3 separate regions of the Homo sapiens genome follow, and regions 2 and 3 are each linked to region 1. Evidence: promoter capture Hi-C in human tissues and cell types (Jung and others, 2019). All regions are on one chromosome and are shown on one strand. Each heading gives the region's core, a stretch centred on a gene start or on the middle of the fragment in contact. The rest is flanking DNA. Distances are from core to core; before and after follow the strand shown.

What was found. Contacts are between HindIII fragments. The study calls those that stand out against the background at their distance.
Region 2: a contact is called between a fragment that was not itself captured here and the fragment with the promoter of DHRS3 in region 1, in 1 of the 25 tissues and cell types used here (adrenal gland).
Region 3: a contact is called between the fragment with the promoter of TNFRSF8 here and the fragment with the promoter of DHRS3 in region 1, in 1 of the 25 tissues and cell types used here (adrenal gland).

What each region holds. Positions count from the first base shown.
Region 1 is chr1:12,616,812-12,619,673 of GRCh38, forward strand. It overlaps DHRS3 (dehydrogenase/reductase 3), which reads right to left and starts at 1,399. Exons shown (of 6, transcript NM_004753.7): 1 at 343-1,399. The coding sequence starts at 537. RefSeq lists enhancers at 1,024-1,655, 1,656-2,287, 2,288-2,862. The HindIII fragment of the contact is 24,076 bases long and covers 1-2,862 here.
Region 2 is chr1:11,809,298-11,812,159 of GRCh38, forward strand. The region is part of intron 2 of CLCN6 (chloride voltage-gated channel 6); the gene reads left to right. Among named protein-coding and RNA genes, the nearest start is that of CLCN6, 4.5 kb to the left of the region's middle. The HindIII fragment of the contact is 4,210 bases long and covers 1-2,862 here.
Region 3 is chr1:12,061,960-12,064,821 of GRCh38, forward strand. TNFRSF8 (TNF receptor superfamily member 8) reads left to right here and starts at 1,344. Exons shown (of 15, transcript NM_001243.5): 1 at 1,344-1,702. The coding sequence starts at 1,640. RefSeq lists silencers at 787-1,019, 1,607-1,736. The HindIII fragment of the contact is 14,330 bases long and covers 1-2,862 here.

The sequences.
Region 1 (2,862 bases), core at 149-2,648:
GAAAAAGGGGGGAAGGCGGGGGAGGGGGGCACAACACCTTCCTTTGGGAGGCAGGAATGTGGGAAATGGTGGGTCTCTTAGGTTTCAGGGTGGGGGTGAATAGCCAGTCAGCCAGCCACCGATCCCAAAGGAGCGGATCAACTCTGAACCTGCCAAAAAAGACAGTCCGGTGCCCGGGAAATTTACAAGGTGAAACCGACTAGCTCAGCACTCGTGGGTGGCGCGGAGAAGTGGGGTGGCCGGCGACTCTCAGCTCCCGGGCGCGGGATCCCGCAGCGGCAGCAGGTGGGCTTACCCCCGCCCCTGCGGCCCCCCACTCCCTGGAGTCGCAGTGCCTGGTACCTTTCTGGCGCCGCGCTCCGCGAACTCGCGGGCGAGCTGACGCCCGATGCCTCTCCCGCCGCCGGTGATGAGGACGTTCTCCCGCGACAGGTCCCGCAGCTTGGCGGGCAGCACCAGTCCGACGGCTGCTTTCACCACCAGATAGATCATCTGTAGAGGGAACATCACCAGCGCGCCCAGCCGTTTCCACACCATCCTCCGCGCCGCGGAGCCGGGCAGGGGGCGAAACTCCCCGGGCCGAGCAATACAGGAATTAAAAAACACCCCGAACAATAAATAGTAAACCGAATAAGGAGGAGAGAGGCGTCCCACCTGGCCACTCTTGAAATCACCTCTTCCCAAATGCAAAGCACCGGGTGAGAAAAAGAAAAAAAAAAAAAAAAAAAAGATAAATTCTCCTCTGGGGGAGAAAAAGCGTCTCCTAAGGTTGGGACGGTAAAAGAGGTGGAGGGGGAAGCCGGAGGTGGAAAGTTCTAACAAGAAGTTTCTTGCCCCAGCAGCCGTTTCGGCTGGGGAATTCTCAGGTAATGTTTACAGACTGACAGAGGAGTTTAGGGAGGGGAAGAAAAAAAAAAAAAGGCACCAACCACACGCGCGCACCCTGCCTCGGTCCCGCGGTTTCAAAGTGCAAGATTAAAAAAAAAAAAAAAAAAAAAAAAAAAGCTGATTCCAAATTGTAGCGCCCCCACCCCCACCCCGTCTCCAGAAAAAAAAAAAAAAAAAAAGTGGGGGGAAAAAGTGCTTGGAGCTCCCAATTTCAGCCCGCGAAAGTCTCCCGACTCATTGCTATTCTTGGGCTCAGGAAATTGCTTAAACGCGATCTGATTGCCAGCAACGTGCAGGAGAAGTGGGGGGTCCGGGTGTCAGTTTCTTTACGTGCAGCGCTCGCCCTCGCGCGCGCTCGCTCGCTCCGGCTCCCTCCCTCCCTCTCTGTTCCAGCAGAGGCTGGGAGTTGCCGCTCGATCCAGCTCCCCTTCTCTCCCTTTTTAGCATTTATTGCCTTCTTTTTGTCCTTTCCAACTTGGAGAGGGTCCGGGTGTGGAGCGCGCGTGGATCGGACGCCTTGGTCTGCGCGGCCCTATTCATTCGCTCCCCGGGCAGCCGCGTCGCGGAGAGGGCGGCCCCTTTTTCCCCCATTTTTTCAATACCCCATTAAGTCTGATTGACAGTTAAAGTTGTTGGGAGGCTTCACTACCGTTCCTCTGAGTGGCTGCTGCGGCCTCCCCTCCCCCTGCGCCGTCGCGGGGAGCGCGCATAAGGCGCGCACTCGGGCTCGCCGGGACTCGCGCTCTCCCGGGACTGGCTCCCCTCTCTGCAAGCCGGGACTTGCCGCCGGTGTCCCTGAGGGCTCGCAGCTGTAACTCGAACACGCTGGAACCGACTCCGGCGAGCCGGCTGCCTTCTCGAGACGTTCCTCCTTGCCCGGGCCGCCCGCGGGCCAGGTGATCACCCCGAGTGTGGAGCAGGCCCGGGGGAGCTTGCGTATGCCTTGATCCAACCAGGTCACCCAGGGTTTTATTTCAGGTCATTTGGTCATCCTCGGCCTCCAGGTAGGATCAGGAAGCCACTCCTCACCTTTGCCCGGACCTCTTCTGTGTTCACGTAGAGTGGACTTTTAAAAGCCTGACCCAAGTGCCTCACGATGCTTAGGGGGAAGCCGCTGGGGAGCAGGACTTTGCTTTGAGGGGAGGGAGTAGTCAAGGTAAAGGAACCTCTGCTCCGAGTGCCAATAAAATCCCCACAAGATTAGCTGGGAGCATATTTATTGCTCATCTGAGCTAGAATTACCTTGACTGACACCAATTTCCTTAATAACAAAAGCCTGTAAACAAAACGTCCTATTCGTGCGCCCCTGTGCTGTGCAGCCAGCGTCTCCTGTCCTTGGGTCTCCCTGGACTGCCCTGGCGGGGCACCCACCTTCTAACCTCCTGCCCTTCCCGACCGGAATGTCTCCCCTGCTGGAGGGTGGGACCGAGCTATTTAGAGTTGTCTGTTGCAGGAAGTCTGGGAGGTGAGTCACTAAAAAGCAGCCCCAGTTCAAAGTGCTGATGGGACTTGCCTCCCGCCCCCCTGCACGTTCCCGGGGCCGGAGGAGCGAGAGCGAAGCAGGGAGCTGCCCTGTAATCTGGGGCAGCCGTTTCCAGCCCGCGACTTGTTCAGACGGCGATTCCTGGGCCTCACCCCCAGAGATTCTGATTCAGCAGGGCTGGGTGCGCTGGGATCGGTACTTTCAATGCTCCGCCTGGTGAGAAAGTCACTTCGAAAAACGCTGATCTGCGGGGAGGGGAGGCTGGGATTACCTCGTCACCTGCAAAGACCTAGTTCTGGGGAGAGGTTCTGCAGGGGAGGATCTTCCTTCTGGGTGAAAAGCCACTGGAAGAGCAAAAGGCAGGAGAGGCTTAGGATGAGCAACTGTCCTGCACTGAGGGCCTATATTCTGACACAGTCCTTCCCCTGACCTTGCAATCGGGGGACTGTTATCCCATCGTCCAGGTTACCCAGCCAGGAAGTGCAGGAGGG
Region 2 (2,862 bases), core at 200-2,699, 810 kb before region 1:
AGGACTGAGACTGTCTCACAGCCTTCATCCTACTTCTAGGAGCTCACCAAGGCTTCCCCATTGACACCCAGGCTCCCTCACCCCTTCTACTAAATTGTACTTACATTTGTAATGTGCTTGCCTTCAGCTGATATGCATATTCATGTAAATTTTTGTTGTTCTTGTCATTGTTTGAGACAGAGTCTCACTCTGTCGCCCAGGCTGGAATGCAGTGGTACGGTCTTGGATCACTGCGACCTCCACCCCCGCCTCTGAGTTCAAGCTGTTCTCCTACCTCAGCCTCCCAAGTAGCTGGGACTACATGCATACACCACCATGCCTGGCTAAGTTTTGTATTTTTAGTAGAGATGGGGTTTCACCATGTTGGTCAGGCTGGTCTTGAACTCCTGACCTCAGGTGATCCACCCACCTCAGCCTCCCAAAGTACTGGGATTACAAGCGTGAGCCACCACGCGTGGCCATATTCATGTACATTTCATGGGTTAATGTTCTTTTGATATTGGTCATTGATATTTCTCAACCATCTTCAAGAATGAGCTTCTTGAGAGCACTTGCTTTGTGTAAGAACAAATTCAGGCACTTAAACAGAAAAGTCTGGATTTTATTTATTCAATAAATAAATCAACTTGACACAAAAAGTATAATAAAGAGGGGAGTGAGTGGGACAGGTTAAAATAGTTGATTTAGTGGAATCTCATTTTTGTTATTTAAAACACGTGTTAAAAGCATGTGTATAAAAACGTGGGTAAGGATGTAGAAGGATATTTAGTAAGGTATTAATAGTCATATTTTAATGAATGGAGTTATAGGGTTTTCTCTACCTTGATAGTCAGTCAACTAGAAAACCCTTCTGTTGAATATCTTTCTAAAAAGTGCCCCTTCTTCCTGTCTCAGGAAGAGTTCATTGCACATATTTGACTCTTTATTTGATAAATTTAGGGTCTTACAAAATGTTAGAATCCCATTTTGACATCCATTCTCATTATAGGTGGTTTGAAAAATGGTAACTTTCTGTGAGATGTGCCATTGCAAACAGGAATGTTTTCATGCAGGTCACACAGTCTATTTATATTGTACCTTTGAATTAGAAAGAGGCACACTCAGAACGTAAGACTTAGAATTAAAGGCCTCCCCCACTGGCCATAGCAGCACCCCTAGCTCACAACCAGTTGAAGGTGGTTTTGGTGTGAACACTAAGATGCCCCTTCCTGGTTGAATTGGGGCTGGTTCAGCCCCCACCTCCCTCCCGGCCAGGTGCCATTTTGCTCGTAACCCCCTGTAACAGCCCTGCAAGACACAGATAACATTTTATTTTTTTAAAAAGTTGTTAGTCCCCTAAACCAAAGAGCAACATATACTGCAGAAATAAAAAGTTAGTCATAGCAAAGGAGAAGTAACAGTATCTGGTTTTAATAATAGCTCATATATTCCATTGGTACATATTTACAAAGGGCCAAACTCAACTAATTTATTTAAAAAAAAAAGAAGCGTGGCACAGTGGCTCACGCCTATATGCTCAGCACTTTGGGAGGCCAAGGCAGGAGGATCGCTTAAAGCCAGGAGTTCAAGACCATCCTGGGCAATAAAGTGAGACTTTGTTCCTACAAAAAAATTTGTTCAAAATTAGCAGGGGGCCGGGTGCAGTGGCCCACACCTGTTACCCCCACACTTTAGGAGGCTGAGGCAGGTGGATCACTTGAGCCCAGGACTTCATACCAGCCTGGGCAACATGGCGAGACTCCATCTCAACAACAAATACGAAAAAATTAACGAGGTGTGGTGGCTAACCTGTGGTCCCCCCTACTCAGGAGATCGAAGCAGGTGAATTGCTTGAGCCCAGGAGACGGAGGTTGCAGAGAGCTGTGATCACGCCACTGCACTCCAGCCTGGGTGACAGAGCGAGACCCTGACAAAAAAAAAAGGGATTCTGGTGTTCTAGCGTTGCGGTTGTTTCTAAATGCCCTTCTTAGCAGTTTTATTGCACTATAATTGGCATACTATTCAGTTCACCCATGTAGAGTGTACAATTCAATGGGGTTTTAAAAATTAGTATATTCACAGAGTTGTACAACCATTCCTACAGTCAATTTTTTTTTTTTTTTGAGACGGAGTTTCGCTCTTGTTGCCCAGGCAAGAGTGCAATGTTGTGATCTCAGCTCACTGCAACCTCTGCCTCCCGGGTTCAAGTGATTCTCCTGCCTCAGCCTCCCAAGTAGCTGGGATTACAGGCGTCTGCCACCACACCCGGCTAATTTTGTATTTTTAGTAGAGACGAGGCTTCTCCATGTTGGTCAGGCTGGTCTTGAACTCCTGGCCTCGGGTGATCCGCCCGCCTTGGCCTCCCAAAGTGCTGGGATTACAGACGTGAGCCACTGCGCCCAGCTAATTCCTACAGTCAATTTTAGAATATTTTCATCACCTGAGAGGAAACCCTGCACTCATTAGCAGCCACTGCCTGTTCTCCTTGCCCCTGACTCCAGGCAACCAGTGATCTCCTTTCTGTCTATTTGCCTATTCTAGATATCTAAAAACCTTCTAAATGTTTACGGAACCATATCATTATTAGATGGAACCATCAATGAAGTACTTGACCAGTAATTTCCATACATATTTTGGATGAAGGCAAGGGTATTGTTTCTCCTCTGCTCTCAGGCACCACTCGCGGAACACTGCTAACACCGATATGTGGAGGTTGTTTCCCCACTACTCAGGAGGCTGAGGTGGGAGGATGGCTTAAGCCCAGGAGTTGGAGGTTGCAGTGAACCGAGATTATGCCACTGCACTCCATGCTGGGTGACAGAGAAAGACCCCATCTCAAAAAAAAAAAGTAGTAGGTTGTCACCTGCATTTCTCAGCAGCTGG
Region 3 (2,862 bases), core at 94-2,593, 550 kb before region 1:
CAGCAGATGCTCAACACAGACACACGGAATGTGGAATAAAAGGAGCAAAGAGAAAACCCAGGGGATGGGGAAGCACTGGAAGGGAAAATCATTCACCAGCAAATGAGAACATAGTACGAGGAGGCTTGAATCATTTCTGTTAGGAGAGAGTGCCAGCCGCCTCCTCCAGGAAGAAAACTCTAAAGGGTCAGGCCTCAGGGAAATAAAATGATCTATACCATCCATCAGTTCCTCCAACATTCAGTCCATCCATCTACCAATCCACCCACCCATTTACCCACTCACCTGCTGCTCATCCATCCATCCATCCATCCACCTATGCATCCATCCATCCATCCATCTATGCATCCATCCATCCACCCATCCACCCACCCATTTACCCACTCACCTGCTGCTCACCCATCCATCCATCCATCCATCCATCCATCCATCCATCCATCCACTTATGCATCCATCCATCCACTTATGCATCCATCCATCCATCCATCCATCCATCCATCCATCCATCCACCTATGCATCCATCCATCCATCCATCCATCCATCCATCCATCCATCCATCCATCCACTTATGCATCCATCCATCCATCCATCCATCCATCCATCCACCTATGCATCCATCCATCCATCCATCTATGCATCCATCCATCCACCCATCCACCCACCCATTTACCCACTCACCTGCTGCTCACCCATCCATCCATCCATCCATCCATCCACTTATGCATCCATCCATCCATCCATCCATCCATCCACTTATGCATCCATCCATCCATCCATCCATCCATCCATCCATCCATCCATCCACCTATGCATCCATCCATCCATCCATCCATCCATCCATCCATCCATCCATCCACTTATGCATCCATCCATCCATCCATCCATCCATCCATCCATCCATCCATCCACCTATGCATCCATCCATCCATCCATCCATCCACCAATTTATCATCCACTCACTGATTCATTTTACAGCAAATGCTTATGAATGGGGATGGGTGGGTGATGGTTGCTTTTTCTGCAGTCTCCCTAGGCCAGTTGTCCCTTCCAAAGAATCTCAAGGGCATGGGAGAAGGTCCTGGCTGATCGTGTCAGGGACAGGAAACTACTCACATTTCACCGTTTCTTGGGGCAGGAGTGGAGGTGGGGGCATTGGAACCCCCTTGGGGCCTCCTAATATCCTGTGAGTCCCCACCTCCAGGGCCAGAAGCTGCCTGCCTCCGCTCCCCGCAGCCCAGGTGCGGCGGGCAGCACACTCCCTAGAGCCAGGACCACTAGTTCCGTCAAATCCGGGGCGGGCCATTCAAACAGCTAAGGGAGGCGTCTCCTAGTGTGCCTTTTCCTGAGTCATCTCTGCACGTGTTTGCCCCCTTTTTTCTTCGCTGCTTGTAGCTAAGTGTTCCTGGAACCAATTTGATACGGGAGAACTAAGGCTGAAACCTCGGAGGAACAACCACTTTTGAAGTGACTTCGCGGCGTGCGTTGGGTGCGGACTAGGTGGCCGCGGCGGGAGTGTGCTGGAGCCTGAAGTCCACGCGCGCGGCTGAGAACCGCCGGGACCGCACGTGGGCGCCGCGCGCTTCCCCCGCTTCCCAGGTGGGCGCCGGCCGCCAGGCCACCTCACGTCCGGCCCCGGGGATGCGCGTCCTCCTCGCCGCGCTGGGACTGCTGTTCCTGGGGGCGCTACGAGCCTTCCCACAGGTAAGCGGGTGACGGGCGCCTGGGGAGGTGCCGGCGGTCCAGAGCCCGGACAGTGTGGGGTGCGTGGGACGCAAGGGAGGACACTCCTCACCCCGTTCCCTGCCCAGCTGGAGTGAGGGGGCGCGGGTGACAAGCAGGAACACCGGAATATGCTAGCACCCACAGGTGGGAGGCTGGCTGAAGGGCTAGTGGTGGGGGGCGCCTCCTTCTCACCCCGCGATGGCTGGGACTGATTCATTCATTCAGTGTGAATTGGACTGAGAGCACTGCCATACGCGGGAGGCGCTCTTTAGCCCGCCTACCTGCGGGCCCGTCGGGGTCCTGGGCAGATCAGGTGAGGCCGTGGGAGTAGTGGGCAGGCCAGATGGGGCCTCCCTTAGCCATGGGAGGTTGGTCGTCCGCGCTCTACCCTGTTGTGTGCGCGGTCCCGTTTGCCCCCTTCCTAAGCTGGCCACTGGCTGGAGGGTCAAGGAAAGGAGGGAGAGTTGGCTGTGGGTGAGAGTGGGGTGAGGGTGCAGGACCACCGGGATTAGCTTCCCCAATCCGCGTCCGGCAAAGCAACGCTGTGGATTGAATTCGCTGGAGCACGTGGTGGGCATTTGCCCCTGGAAGAAGGTCAGTGGTGGGGCTGAAGTCTATGGTGGGTTGCCTCAGAATTGAGTTTGGGGACTGCTTTAGGAAAACTGAGCACTTACCAGTGGCCAGCGCCAAATTAATCACTGTGGGGAGAATGCAAAGTAACCAGGCGTGTTTCACGGAGCCCAGGGGCTGCTGGAGAGAGAGGCCCTCAGCTGACCCAGGACCCCGGTGGACCCCTGCATAGAACCATAGTAGGTGCGAGTGGATGCCTGCTGAATGATACAGAGGGAAAGGAAGGAGCAGGCTGTTAGTCCAGCGGTGGGTCACGGTGGGGGAGAGGGAAGACCCAGTTCCCCTTTAATCCTACAGGAAGAGAGGACTCCATGCTATGGATCAATTCTAGTCATCTGAACCTTAGGCAGTGGGAGGAGAGTGGCAGAGTGGGCTTTAGGCAGGAGGGAGGAACTATGCAGCAAAGGAGGAACTATGCCCTCTTCCATTTCCAATGGGCAATGTGAGGTATTCCCCCTTTCCCCCCAAGAGGGCAGAGGGGACAAAGCCCTGGCTAGAGACACCCTGTC